Regions from separate parts of the Homo sapiens genome. Here all the other regions are linked to region 1. The links are contacts of gene promoters, found by promoter capture Hi-C in blood cells and fetal thymus (Javierre and others, 2016). All regions are on one chromosome and are shown on one strand. The core of a region is centred on a gene start or on the middle of the fragment in contact, and the rest is flanking DNA. Distances in the headings are between cores, read along the strand shown.

The links. The method cuts DNA at HindIII sites, captures the fragments that hold promoters and counts their contacts. A CHiCAGO score of 5 or more calls a contact.
Region 2: a contact is called between a fragment that was not itself captured here and the fragment with the promoter of FAM210B in region 1, in 1 of 17 cell types (total CD8 T cells). The highest score is 6.1, in total CD8 T cells.
Region 3: a fragment that was not itself captured here is called in contact with the fragment with the promoter of FAM210B in region 1 in 1 of 17 cell types (M0 macrophages); the score reaches 5.4 in M0 macrophages.
Region 4: a fragment that was not itself captured here is called in contact with the fragment with the promoter of FAM210B in region 1 in 1 of 17 cell types (endothelial precursors); the score reaches 6.5 in endothelial precursors.

What each region holds. Positions count from the first base shown.
Region 1 is chr20:56,356,976-56,360,571 of GRCh38, forward strand. It overlaps FAM210B (family with sequence similarity 210 member B), which reads left to right and starts at 1,999. Exons shown (of 3, transcript NM_080821.3): 1 at 1,999-2,216. The coding sequence starts at 2,031. RefSeq lists a silencer at 1,676-2,275. The HindIII fragment of the contact is 7,749 bases long and covers 1-3,596 here.
Region 2 is chr20:58,664,015-58,667,610 of GRCh38, forward strand. It overlaps STX16 (syntaxin 16), which reads left to right. Exons shown (of 9, transcript NM_001001433.3): 3 at 3,476-3,583. It overlaps STX16-NPEPL1 (STX16-NPEPL1 readthrough (NMD candidate)), which reads left to right. Exons shown (of 23, transcript NR_037945.1): 3 at 3,476-3,583. Among named protein-coding and RNA genes, the nearest start is that of STX16, 15 kb to the left of the region's middle. The HindIII fragment of the contact is 2,188 bases long and covers 548-2,735 here.
Region 3 is chr20:54,120,869-54,124,464 of GRCh38, forward strand. No RefSeq gene overlaps it. Among named protein-coding and RNA genes, the nearest start is that of CYP24A1, 51 kb to the right of the region's middle. RefSeq lists an enhancer at 2,686-3,491. The HindIII fragment of the contact is 9,202 bases long and covers 1-3,596 here.
Region 4 is chr20:54,339,947-54,343,542 of GRCh38, forward strand. No RefSeq gene overlaps it. Among named protein-coding and RNA genes, the nearest start is that of PFDN4, 130 kb to the left of the region's middle. The HindIII fragment of the contact is 2,012 bases long and covers 946-2,957 here.

The sequences.
Region 1 (3,596 bases), core at 749-3,248:
CCACTGCACTCCAGCCTGGGCGACAAAGCGAGACTCCATCTCCAAAAAAAAAAAAAAAAGAAAGAAAATCATGGGAACCATGAGGAAGTCGAGATCAGATGCCATCTGGAGGTGGCACTGTCACCGGGTGACAGAGGGGCTTCAGGCAAGGCATCTCTACAACATCCCAGCTAACGTGTGTGCCCTCTCTGTGCACCAGGCACTGAGTGAAGCCCTTTCCAAGAACTGTGTCAAAGAATTATCTCAACAATCTCATGGGGGAAACTATTATTATCTTCATTTTACACATGAAAAGACCAAGGCTCAGAGAAGTTGAGTCACTACTTCCAAATCACACAGCTGGACTTCTAGGGCCAACCTGACAGACAATCTGCACCCTTAAGCACTCTTCCCCAGCTTCTTGCAGACACTTAAATGGAAGGATTCCCATCCAGGGGCACTTTAGGACCTCCCTCCAACAGACCCTGTTACTTTCACAGCTATAACTCCATCTTATGTAATAAATATTTTTTAATGCATATGTGTTTAATATCATTTCTGTGCCTGTGTAAGAGCTTGGTTGAGTTGAATTGCAGTTGACTAATAGAATATTACATCTTTTGTAAAATATATTTCTTTTTCTTTTTCTAGAGAGACAGGGTCTCGCTCTGTCACCCAGGCTGGAGTGCAGTAGCACCATCGTGGCTCCCTGAAACCTGGACCTCCTGAGCTCAAGCAATTCTGCGTCAGCCTCCCGAGTAGTTGGGACTACAGGTGCATGCCACCACACCAGGCTAATTTATTTTTATTTTTGTAGTGACAGGGTTTCGCTATGTTGCTCAGGCTGGTCTTGAACTCCTGAGCTCAAGTAATCCTCCCACCTCAGCCTCCCAACGTGCTTGGATTATAGGCATGAGCCATTCCACCCAGCCAGAACATCTTTATTGAAGTATAATTTACACAGCATAAAATTCATCCATGTTAAGTGTACAGTCCCACGAGTTTTAGTTACACAGCTGTCACCATCCCTACAATCTGGGTTTAGGATCCTTCCCTCACCCCAAGACGTTCCTCCCACTCCTTGGCAGTCAATCTCATTTCCCACTCCCAGCCCTAGGCCACCACGGATCTGTTTTAGGTCTCTGTGATTTTGCCTATTCTGGGCACTTCATGTAGCTGGAATCCTCCAGTGTGTGACTTTTGTGCCTAGATTTTTTCAATTGGCATAAGAGCTTTGAGATTCATTTATGTTGTGCATGTATCAGTAGTCTGTTCCCTTTAATTGTTGCATTGCGTCCCATTGAAGACTTGTGCCACAGTACGTCCCAGTTTATGGGCATTCCTAATTGTTGACTAATATTTATAAGATCTCTACAAACATTGGTGTCTTCACATTTTAGTCTTTGAGTGTCGAGCCTTTGTTTCTCTTGAGAAGCTACCGAGGAGTGGAGTTGCTGGGTTGTATGGTTAGTGTATGTCTAACTTTTCAAGAAACTGCCACACCATCTTTCGCTTTACATTCACGCCAACAATCTATGAGGGTCAGAGGACTTTTTATTAAACATGTACTAATATCAATTCTCATATTTATTTTCTTCTTTGGAGCTAACACGTAAACATATCTATAATTTTTTTTCAGATTTCACCCATTTCTGCAGGGAGAAAAGCTCATAAGCCACGGCCCTACGCCCACCTTTGTGCCCGCAGAATAAGGAAACCCGCCAACTACACACCACAGTTAGAAAGCCCAAGACCCTGAAAAGACCTGCACCCACCCCCAAAGGGGCGGGGCTGGTGGGCGGAGAGGAGGCGGGGCGCGCTCCTTCAGCCCCGCCCACCAGCCCTGGACTCCGGCTCCCGAGGAGCGGAGCTAGCGGGTGAGCCAAGGGGATGTGCACAGGCCTCCTCAGTCCCGCCCAGCGCGCGCGCGCGGCGGCGAAGCCGGCGGGCGGGGCCGGGGAGGGCCCTCGCCGGGTCAGCTCCGCCCACCCTCCCCGGCCTCCGCCCGCCTCCCGGGTCAGCGGCGCGGGTGCTGCGCCTAGCTGCGCACCATGGCCGGGTTGCTGGCGTTGCTGGGTCCGGCAGGCAGGGTGGGCGCCCGGGTCCGGCCTCGCGCCACCTGGCTCCTGGGCGCCACCGCCCCCTGCGCCCCGCCGCCCCTGGCCCTGGCCCTGCTCCCGCCCAGGCTAGACGCCCGGCTGCTCCGCACGGCGCGCGGGGACTGCCGCGGCCACCAGGTAAGCACCCCACCCCGACCCTGATCCCGGGCGGTGTCCAGGTCCCCAGACGTCCGCAGGGCCGCGCCGGGGTCCGGCCGCCTCCGCCAAGGACGCCTTTGCACTTGTAGCTGCCCGGGACCGAGCTCTTCCAGGGTCCCCGAAACCCCAAATCCCTGCAAGCCAAGGAAGCGATCCTCCTAGTTGACAGCCAGAGAAACTGAGGCTCGGGAAGGTGTGGCGCTCTGCCCAAGGTCGCGCAGTCTTCGGCCGAGCCCCGGGTCTGCAGAGCCTCAGCCAGGCTGGGGCGCAGCCGACTGACTTGGTCTGAACTTCCACACGTTGCCTGCGGAGTTGTTGTCCAGGCCTTCTGGCTGGGTCTCGCTGTGTTTTGAACACCTCCCGACGCTCGCTGCTCCTCCCTTTTCTTCTGAGTGGAAGAGCAGGCGTCCTCAGGGAAGCCGCGGGCAAGAAACCCACAGTGCTGTTTGTTATGTTTCATTTCCGTCACTTTCCATTGGTGCTAAGTGAAAACTGGTTTTCCTTCAGAGCAGTCATACCAGCTTTCCTTTCAAGAAATCTATCACTTTCTTCCAAGTGAGTCTTTTTAAATAAAAATAGTAGTAAATGAAGTCTGGCGGTCCAGGAATGGCAAGCCCAGACACGCGGAGCCGGCGTCCAGCCCGGAGCGCATCCGGCCTGGCAGTCTGGAGCCTCTTTGTTTGCCTGGGTGCAGACAGGGCCCCTCCATTCATCGCCCGGTGACCTCAGACCGAGTCCTGAAGGCTTTTGAGCTTGTTTTCTGACCTTTAGAGGGCCAAAAATAGCACCTTCCCAGCAAGAGTTTGGGAGACAACTCCATGAGCTGGTGCAGGCCTCAGCGGAGTGCCGCCGGCCCAGCGAACATCTCCTGACCGTTTCCTAGCTTTTCAGTAAGGAGCGGATGGGGATTGGACCCAGGCTTTCATCATGCCTCCTGCCCAGATCAACTTCCTTCCTTGCCTTCTCCAGTCCGACAGGTGGCACACAGGTCTTGGGGATCCTCTCCAGAGTGGCACCTTCTGCACACACCGTGCCGCCTCCTGATGATTCTTCAGGGCCCAGCCCAGCTGTTCCTTCCTCCGGGAAGCCCTCTCTAACGACCTGTGAGGTCTCGGATGCCTCCACTGGGCCTGCTTCCACCCCATGGCTGTGGGTCTTCTCTGCACTCATCTGGAATGGCCTCTTGTCCTGCCTGTCAGCCACATTGACCTTGTCCCCAGCTCAGGCCCTGGCACTGGAGCGGTGTGTGTGTATACAGTGGCAAAGAGTTGGCCTCAGACTCCCTGGATTCCTCTCTCTACTCACTTGTTGTTGACTTTGATCAAATTCCCTTCTCTCTATCTCAGGCCCCTCATCTGT
Region 2 (3,596 bases), core at 392-2,891, 2.3 Mb after region 1:
GTTGAAATTCAGTAAGGGTAAGGAGAGAGAATTAGAAACCTGGCCATTTTTTAAGATCTGTATGAAATAGGATGGCAGCTTGAAAATTGATACATATGCTGGATCTTCAACAATAAGAAGACATGTTTTTAAATGGAAAGTGAGGTTTCTGAAATTAAAAGGGTGCTTATGTTGCACATAAAATTTGTTTATGTCCATATTTGTTCCCATTTCAAATAGTTGACGCTTATCTTCAACAATTGTTTTCCCTTCCCAAAACATACTGTCTTGTTTTTTAATAGTACATACTGTGATACACATTACAAATCCATACTGCTAAAAGAAATGACACATTTCTTCTCAATAGGGTGGTGTTTCTTTATTATAATGAACTATAGCTATAGACTGTATCATAAAAGAGACAAATTATTCGCTATTTAAAGTTTTCATTCCCAAAGAATCAGCTGTTCTATCTTACTGGCAAAACTCTGATACAATGTGTGGGAAAGCTAGTACCAGCTGAGCAGGCTGGCATCCATGCTGTTCATGTAGGAATCTCTAATTAGCAAGCTTCCTTAGGACCCTTAACAAAGAGTGTGTTCTCCCCACTTTTGATTTACATCTAATTTGAGGGGAACACATGCATAAAATCAAGTACTGCTTCAAAGAGTTGTATTCACTTCAACCGACTTTTCATATGTGGTTTATAATTTGTTGTTTTGGATAAAATGATACTAATCCCAATGCAGGTAAATTTAGATAGATACCATCTCTCTGTCTTCTTTAGTTTAATGTGTATTTGTAAACAGTAAAAACAGTACAAAATAAGATCATGAGCTTAAAAACTCTAAAATCACTATAAATAATTACTGATTGAAATGTGTAATAATAAAATATAGTGGATTCGATAATAAACTGGTGTAGTGGAAATTCTAGGACCCATGAAGAGGTCCTTTAGCAATTTTAGATTTTACTTTGTATAAACAGCTGGAGTTCAAGTTCTGTTCCAGTCCAGCAATACTGTAGACAGCACCTGATGTATGGCTGGCAGGTGCTGCGAGCTGGGCCTGTGGTTTGTCCCCCTGCTTTTTAGTCAGTGTGTCCTCCACAGAGTTGTGTACCTCTTGGTGACTTTGGAGCAGGAGTGTTGAGGAATAAACAAGTCTGCCTCTGAGTGCTTGGCACAGGCCCTCTCTGTGCCTGCTCTGTAGAGGGTGAGGTCTGCGCCTCTCTGTCCACGGATGGTCAGTAAGAGAGGATGATCTTTACTGACACTAACGTCACTCACTGGCGGCCTGTCCTATAGTGCCTGGTGTAGTTGGTGGGAAATGAATCAAACTACTGTGTTTTGTTGTTTTAATCTGATGGCTTGTCTTGATTCATTTTCTTAGCAAATTGCAGTTATAGTTTATGGGCCTGTGGAGTGATTGGCACCTTTGAGGGTGGAAGGGGTTTCTGGAGTCAGCCGACCCAGGTTTCAGTCTGTCACATAATGGCTCTGTGACCTTGGGCAAGCGACTTAACTTTTCTGAGTTTCAATTTCCATATTTATAGGTTAGAATAATAGTTTCTAACTCACCTAGTTTTTATGAGGATTAAAATAATGTCAAGAATGTAAAATTCCTATTGATGAACTCTTGAAACCAAACAGAAGGTAGTGGTGGTGGAGAATTACCACTTCACGGCCCGGGAGCCCCAGACAGTGCGGGTTTGGATGACACACCATTTGTTTAAGAAATGACACTGGCCCTGCAGCATCCGTGCCACGCTTGAGCACCGTTGGGCTTAATCACGGCTCCTGGACGTGCTGGGATTAGTGAATGGGGCCTAGTCCTTCCAGCGTGGTCATTGCCTAAGATGCGTTCCCTGAGTGGACACGTGCCCCAGAGCACACAGAAAGCCTGAAGCAGATGGTGGCAGAACCACTCCAGGGCATGCAGGGAGGTTGATGGTGAAGATACCAATTTGCTTTTAAGAATTTTACTGTGAACTCTTTAGGATTTAGGGCCTATTACTTGAAGTGGTCTTTTATTCTAAGTTTTTCTTTATATGATATTTTTCCCCCTTCATCTGTGGATTTTAAAATTTTGTCTTGTTCCTTTATTATTAGAAAAGCAAATAAGTATTTAATGAATGAAAAAATAAATTTAGTTAAATGCAAGGAAGAGGGAAGAAAAGCAATATGAATTTTTCACCCAACTCTACAGTGTGATTTAGAAAATTTCCAAAGTATTATCTATAAAGGGCTTTTATAGATTATTTTCCATTATATTTTGATCATCATTTGGATCTTTTGAAACTGGCATTTAAAAATTCTGAGCTCTGGAGGGCACCTCAAAATCTTTTCAACCCATTCACTGCCTGCAGGCAAGAAAACAGCTTAACCGTGCCAAACCCATGATTTCCCTCTGTTTTTTGTGTGTGTGTGTGTTTTTTTTTTTTTTTTTTTTTTGAGACAGAGTTTCGCTCTTGTTGCCCTGGCTGGAGTGCAATGGTACGATCATGGCTCACTGCGACCTTCGCCTCTTGGGTTCAAGGGATTCTCCTGCCTCAGCCTCCCGAGTAGCTGGGATTACAGGCATAAGCCACCATGCCCAGTTAATTTTTGTATTTTTAGTAGAGAACGGTTTTCACCATTTTGGCCAGGCTACTCTCGAACTCCTGACCTCAGATGATCTGCCCGCCTTGGCCTCCCAAAGTTCTGGGATTACAGGCGTGAGCCACCGCGCCCAGCCGATTTCCCTCCCATTCTTAAAAGCTTTCTACCGCAGTGTGTTATATAGTTAAAATAAACAGGAACCATCGATACCATTTCAAAATAAGGGGAAATGTTCCCTGTGGACATTTAACTGAAGAAAAGAAATGACAGTGTAAGATTGCATTGAGATCTTAAGGATTGCTTTTGCCAAATGGTAGATAATTTGCTAGCGGTTTTAGGCAGTTGTTTCACACATCTTAACACATGGTTAATGATTGTGTGACTGAGATAACTGGATCAGCCCTATTTCCAAAATAAGCTAAGTGTATTTAAGTAAACCTTGCTACTATTGAGCATTTTGTAGTTGTTTCATTTACTGCCTAGTTTTTTTTTTCACTTGCAACTGATCACAAGAATCATTGAGGTTCATGCCGTTCTATCACAGTACTAGTAGTAAGAGGTCTTTATTTTAAGGATCTTTTGTTGACTTTTTCATTACATTTCTATAGCCAGATCAAGTCAAATTTACGTTCTGAAGTATGTCCAAGGAAATTAAGAGCTGGTGCATGAAAAGATAGGAAAACAATCCAAATCCTAGCAGTTATCAAAAGCAAGTTTATAATACAGGCAAGTGCATTCACTCCTTTCTATATATTTTCAGGGAGCAACATTTAAGAGAGAGTAAACATTCACTCCTTTCTGTATCTTTTCAGGGAGTAACATTTAAGAGAGAGTAAGAGTATTTGTATCTAAATTGGATTAGAATAATTTTTTTCATGTCCCTTTACTTTCCTGTAGCTTGCTGATGACCGTATGGCACTGGTGTCAGGCATCAGCTTAGATCCAGAAGCAGCGATTGGTGTGACAAAACGGCCACCTCCTAAGTGGGTGGATGGAGTGGATGAAGTAAGTTCCATGT
Region 3 (3,596 bases), core at 711-3,210, 2.2 Mb before region 1:
AAATCATAGTATTCTAGAGAAATTTCTAGGCCCAGAAATCATGAGGAAAATAATGTTAGTTTCTTTTTCCACCCTTTCCAATGAGATTTTTCATGAGGGTAGGAAAGTACTTCTCTTATAGAATTTTACAGCTGAATAGAACTAAAGAGACCTTTAGTTTTCAAGTTAAAACATTTTTTTTTAAAGTAAATAAAATAAGAACTGCAGTGAAGAAATGACTGGTCCATAGCCATGGCACATATGAAAATTCCAAATGTGTATGAGGTAAAGCTAGGGCTTTGCATGAGTGAGATAGACCAGGTGGGAGGTTCTACGGAATGGTGGAAACAGGCAAACAAGCCAAGGGTCTGGCCCGTCCAAGGGGGCTTTGTTACTCAGCTGTAGCCAGCTGTGCTAAGCAGAAAGTGGGCCCACCATAGACAGATCTAACTTTTTTTTTTTTTTTTTGGGATGGAGTCTCACTCTGATGCCCATGCTGGAGTACACTGGTGTGATCTTGGCTCACTGCACTCTCCATCTACCAGGTTCAAACAATTCTTCTGCCTCAGCCTCCCAAGTAGCTGAGAATACAGGTGCGCACCACCACGCCCAGCTAATTTTTGTATTTTTAGTAGAGACGGGGTTTCACCATGTTGGCCAGGCTGGTCTCAAACTCCGGACCTTAGGTGATCCACCCACCTGGGCCTCCCTAAGTGCTGGGATTACAGGCATGAGCCACTGCGCCCGACTGGCAACAGGTCTAACTTTTGAAGGCAAGAGAAAAATATCAACTTTGAGAATGCACTCCCTCAATTTTTAAAAGTTGTCAACAAATTCAAAAGTTTAAAACACATCATGCAAGCCAAAAAAGCCCATGTGAGGTCCACATTTGGCTGGGAACCTGCCAGTCTGTGACTTGCATTAAAGAATCTTCCAGCATCCCACACATTTTCTGACAAGGTAGTTCTCACCTCACTTCCTGTCAATGTTTACCTAAGTAAGGAATGCTTAGTGTGATCATTTTCTTAACTCTTTATCCTGAAGAAGGACCTTCAGTAAAGACAATATTTTAATATTTTACTTCGGTTTCCTATATTTTACTTTGGTTGCCTCCATTATTCACCAATTTGTGCTTGTTCAGCCAGAAATTCAGGAACCACAGGAAAGCTGTTGACTAAAGAAAACCTTAAACTTTCATCCCAGTTCTGTTCACTGTTTTTTATTAAAGAGTTTTCTTTTTATAGTAAACTAAAGAGAGGATGTTCAGAGTCCAGGTTCATGAGCTGCAGGGCTTTTTTTTTTTTTTTTTTTTTTTTTGCTCAGCAGAACCCCAAAAATAGAATTGCAAAAATACAATTTGGTAAATCTTTAATGCCCAAATACTACTCCTTCCCCTAACTAAGTCAGCCACTGGAACCATTTCTGCCTCTGCACATGACACTGACCAGGAGGCTAAGCCCATTATTTATGCACGGCTGATTTTATTTCTCAATTCATTTTGAGCATCTTTAATGCAAAACAACAAGAAAAACAGCAGCAAAACACCCAGCCTGATTATAAGCCTTTTCTCCTGACTTTTAATGCAAACTTGAAGAATGAGCCAGAGATGACTCATAAACTCATGAACTTCAGTTTCTGGTGAAGACCATCATTTAAGACAAAGTCAGTTCCCCAGACTGTGGGTTTCCCTATTTAGTGAACAAACATGTTTACTTTAAAATGCTAATCAAAAAAGTCCTTGAACAGACATTGTCTTCCCCAAAATTACTAAAATAGTTACCATGTTTCAAATTATTTAGAATAGGAAACTAAATTATAATAAAATAATTGAGGATAGAAATCTAACTGATTTTTCACCTATTAAAATTTGGGTCACAAATTATACACACACATATACACACACACGCACCTACACACACATGCATACACATCTCCAAAACACAAGATAGTAAGCACGGGAAAATTTGCCAAATGTCCTAGTGGATTGATCAACAAACAGCCCAGGTAATTCTGCATTTCTTCTTGGTCGAAGTCACTTTTTCTTCCCAACTTCTCACTCAGACTAGGTACAACTAAAATGTAGATAAGTAAGTCACTTTATCTGTGTTTTATTTAAGCAGTACGGTGGTTAGGTGCATGAATGCTACAGCCAGCATGCCTGGTTCGGATTCCTGGTTATGCCACTGTTATTGGTAGCTTAATGTGGAGTTGGTAAGACGGGGATGTGGAAATAGCAGTGTCAATTCGTAACTTGCTTAGGAGGATTAAATGAATGTATAGAACATTGCCTGGCCCTGTGTACAAATTCAAGACTTTGAGCTCAGTTAGTCTGGAGAGCTAGCAGATTCTTAACCTTTGAATCCCCAGCTAAAAACCCTGTCCTGACGAACGTTCATGCACATTTTGACGGCCTTTCAGAGATGCTCAGGCCTTCTCTGCCTCCCTTACTCCCCAGGCTAAGGTCCTCTACTCTAGAAAACACCTAAAGGAACCTGGGGATGTGAGTTACATATGAAAACCACTTTAGTCCTCCTAAGGACACCATACATATTTTCTGAGCCATGGCAAAATCAATAGGTAAACAGGTATTGTTAGAGGGAACTAGGCCTGGTTCCTTTTTCAATGGGGTTTGAAAGTTGTATTTTGTTTATTAGGAAGGAAAGAAGTGGACCTTTCCAGTGGGTGATTCATCATCTGGTTCCTTCAGGGGAAGAGAGGGAGTGACTAGAGAGGATTGATGTCCAGCCTGGGGCCTGCTTTGCTCAACAGGGACCTCATGAAGGCAGGCTTCTTCCTCCTGACATTTCCAGCACTCCTCACGGGCACTCTGGAGAGGGATCTCTGAATCATCGCTGTGTCTAGACACATCAAAGGGCAAGCTGCCTGTTTCTCAGGCTCACCAAACCCAGTCAGGAGCACTAACGTGGCAGGTCTCCCTCTGAATCACTCAGACCAGAGGGAGGGCGCTGAGAGGTGAGCAGGTTCACCCGGCTGTATTCGCTCTTGGGCGAGGGCAACATTCCTCCCTGGGGAATGCAAAGTCATGTTGCCTCTTGCCAAAGCCAGTCAGGTAAGGAGACACTGTTGATTTTGTCTCTGCTTCCTGGTGCCAGAGCAGACCAAGCAGGGCTTTGAAGATGTTGATTAGACGTAAGCCTTGACGAGGAATGTGACTGTCATTCAACAGTGTAGGCACTCAGTAAATACCCGGGGCATGAATTCAAGGGAACGCTACCTTGCAAAATGGGCCACTCACTTCAGACAAGTAATTGAAAGAAACATTTAAAAATTCCAAGAGCAGGAAAGATAAAATAATTGCTTTGGGTTGCTCTTCGGAAGCCTAATGCAACATACAGTTAAGTTTTAGACTTCCTGACTATTCTTCACAAATTTCTTTTCTTCAAACTCATGTTGTTCTTATATCTGAATGTTCTACTGCATACTCTAATAGATTTGATTTCAACCACATCCCACACAAAATCATATTTACACACACACACACACATACATATACACATATGTATATGTATGCAGTTGATTATGGACATAGTTTTCTGCTTTGCAGATACTTTATTAAACATCTATTATATGTGATATTGATATTTCCTTTTCACATG
Region 4 (3,596 bases), core at 702-3,201, 2.0 Mb before region 1:
TCCCAACACTTTGGGAGGCTGAGGCAAAAGGATAGCTTGAGGCCAGGAGTTTGAGACCAGTCTGAGCAACAAAGCGAAACTCAATCTCTACCAAAAAAAAAAAAAAAAAAAAAGAGGGAAAACACTAGCATGGCACAGTGGCTTATACCTGTAGTCTAACTATTTGGGAGGCTGAGGTGGGAGGATGTCTTGAGGCCAGGAGTTCCAGGCTGCAGTGAGCTATGATGATGCCAGCACTCCAGCCTGGGCGACAGACCAATACTCTGTGTCTAAAAAGGAAAAAGAAAGTCAAATTAAAGCATTAAAAAAGAGAATTCAAAGTCCTTTCTCACCTCCATTTGGCCTGCTCCTTCCTTCCTTCTTTCTTCCATACTCCCTTGAAATTTTGCCCCACAGGACGTCATGGATATTTCCAAAAGGAGGGTGCTTCCTAAGTGCTTGCCTCTGAGTGGCATTTGAGGTAGAACTTATGACATAATTCTTCTTGGTCCAATGTAAATATTAACATACTTCCCTACCCTACATGTCTAATTATGGTTAGCCTATGATTTTGTTGGAATCAGACTATGGACTTATCTTTGTTTACTTTTAGTATTTGTTTTTATCCTGTTCATTATTATACTTCTCTGAAGTTCCAGATCTGAAACTGTTTAAATTATGGGTCTTTGGTGGCAAGCAAGAGAAAGTGTATCTTGCTCTCTTAAGCAGAAAAATAATTCATTCAAGGGAAATAAGGGACCTAAAAGGATCCAAGTGAAAGCCATAGACTGAGGTTTGGAAAAACACAAGGAGCAAAGAAAGCTCACGGGGAGAGGGGGAGTTACAGCCAGAACTGAGGGGCTGTTACTTTAGGATGTCAGCGATGAAGTTAATCAGCCTATGATCTTTTTTGTTTCTGTGTCATTTCCTTCAAGATTCCACACTCAAAGGAAACAGCGTTCAATAAGCTTATCTTGGGTCATGGCCAGATCCCTTAACCAGGGAAAGGAAGGACACTGTTATTTCTACCATATTCTATCCAGCAGGGAAAGTACGCTCATTGCAGAGCTGACTCAGTGTACTTTTACCAGAAAAAGGAAAATCCTAACTAGCAAAGATTACACAAGATTCCTCTTAGATAATATTTGGTTTGCTTATTCCACACTGTAAATTTTCTGACCAGTGGTAGTGTTCTCTAGGAAGCGCTTCATATATTGCAATCTCCCCAAGAACAGGGCTGGATTTATCATTTTCTTGAGTGACATATAAGACAATAAGTGATTAATAGATGCCTAGAGTTATAATTCAAAATAGGTTTCATTATGTTTTGCCCTGATAACTTTCTTTATACTTATTGTGTGGTTTTCTTCTCTAGGTTGCTATAAATTTGGTCTCCTTGTTCAAGGTAGTTGTCACTGTGTTGACCAGGCCTTGCTTCTTAACTCAGGTAATTGAAAAATCTATCCAACATCCTCATCAGCAGAAAAAAAATGTAGACTGAGAGAGTATCTTCCTTTTGTCTGTGTGATTACAGACTTAAGGAAAATTTGCGTTAATTAATCTCTTTATAATGCACATTATAAAACAAATTTCCTAAAGTGTGGAATTATTTAAGTTACATAGAGTTATGACTCAGGCATTGGATTTTATTAACACCAATGGCATATTACATTGATTTGGTGTATAGTCATGAAGTTACTATTTATTTTTACCTAATTAAAATGTTAAAGTGGAGGGGTCTGGATTTTAATCATATTCCTCAAAAGCTACTTTGATACTGGATAAAATGTCAGCTCTCGAAATCCACAAACCTCATTATCCTCATTGTAAAAATCAGATATTCCAGATGTTAAATATATATCAGATGAGAAAGGATGTGGGTAAACCTGGTGTCAGAGAAAATGTGGTAAGCATTCCCTTTCATTCCTGCCTCCTCATTTAATGCCTATGCCAGGCAGAAGAAAAAGCAGCAATACAGAAAAAACACATTATTTAAACTGAGGTCTGAGTTCAAATGTGGATTTTACCATATCCTAGCTGAATGCAAGCAAATTACTAAAATTCTCAGAACTTTAGTTTTTTCATCTATAAAACATGGCTAAAAATGTCTATTTCTTACTGTTATCATTAGGATCAAACGAAATACTTGATATATCCATAGTGAGTACTCAATAAATGGAATCTATTATAATTTGACAACTAACATATTTATATGAGTCTTACTCATTTCTATGCATGAAAGAAAATACACGTTTGAGACAGATTAATAATTACTTGTTTGATTAATCTGTCTAGATCTATTTTTTCAAATGAATATGAAAGTTGTGATTGATAACTGGAGCAAATCATATAATCCATCATTTCCTAAAACATTTCTAGGGCACACCCATGCTGTCAGATGTAACAAAATGGGTTATCAGAAAAACATTTGCGTTCATACGGGATTAGACAAATCTTGATTGACCAATGTCAAACTACTGTCTTGACTGCAGGACTTTTCAGAGCCTTTAACATACAAGCATACATTGTGACTTTCCAGAAGCAAATAGAGTAAGCAGAATTTTTTAACTTATTTGACCAATGAGTACATTATCGTGGGGGTAGGGTTATTCAGACAACATTATGAAGAAGTGATGACATCGCTGTTTTTCACAATCTACTTGCAAAATGGCACAAGAAATGATCACAGCAGACAATCAAACTTGCCCAGAGCAGCCATTGTGAATTTAATCTAATTGCTCTTGAAAGCTGGATTTGTTTCTCTGAATTGAGTTGCAGCCTTTGAGGAAGAAACAAATTGCCTCCCCACTGCTCACACTTCTGCTCCATCTGTAAATGTTAGGAAATAGCATAAAAAGAAATTCAAATTCCTGTAGCAGTAAATATGCAAACACACATTTTCTGCAGATATAGCGAGGGCATCATTTTCCCCCTTTTACCACCCCAGAGTCCCTGAACAGGTTTGAATCTGTTGACAAAGCTTTTTAAAACCATCTAGCTGACCTTTATTTTTTATTTTTATTTTTATTTTTATTTTTATTTTTATTTGTTTTGTATGCTAGCAATCTGTTAACCACATTTCCAGGGAACTTGCATAGAGAGCTCCTTCTCTCTCTCTCTCTCTCTCTCTGTCTCTCTCTCTCCCGCTTTCTATCCTACTCCCTTCCTCCTTCCCTGCCTTCTTCGCTCTCCTTTCTCTCTCTTCCTTTTTTTCTATTTCTTATTCGTTGGCAGTCTTGCCACTGGATGTGCAAATTAAAACTCATTTAATCATCTGCATGCCAAGCACAAGGACTCAGTCAATCACGTTCTATGCCATTGGCTAGGTAATTACTTGAAATTTGCTATCTATTGTTTCATCCTTTGTTCCCAGCCTACTATTGACGTCAGAGGAGTTTTGCCTGTGAAAGAATGAGGTCTTATTTTTGTGTGTGTGTATAAAATATTCTAGTTTGCTCCAGACTTCTGTGCCCAAGTGGGTCTCTGGCAAAGAATGTTCTGTACATCCATCAACATTTAGAAGTGCAGTGATGGTTGCATGCAAAGTGGAAGTTGGAAATTGAGCAGAAAGAAAAAACCTTGTGGAGCGTAGTCAAACCGGTTACTCAAAGCTTGTG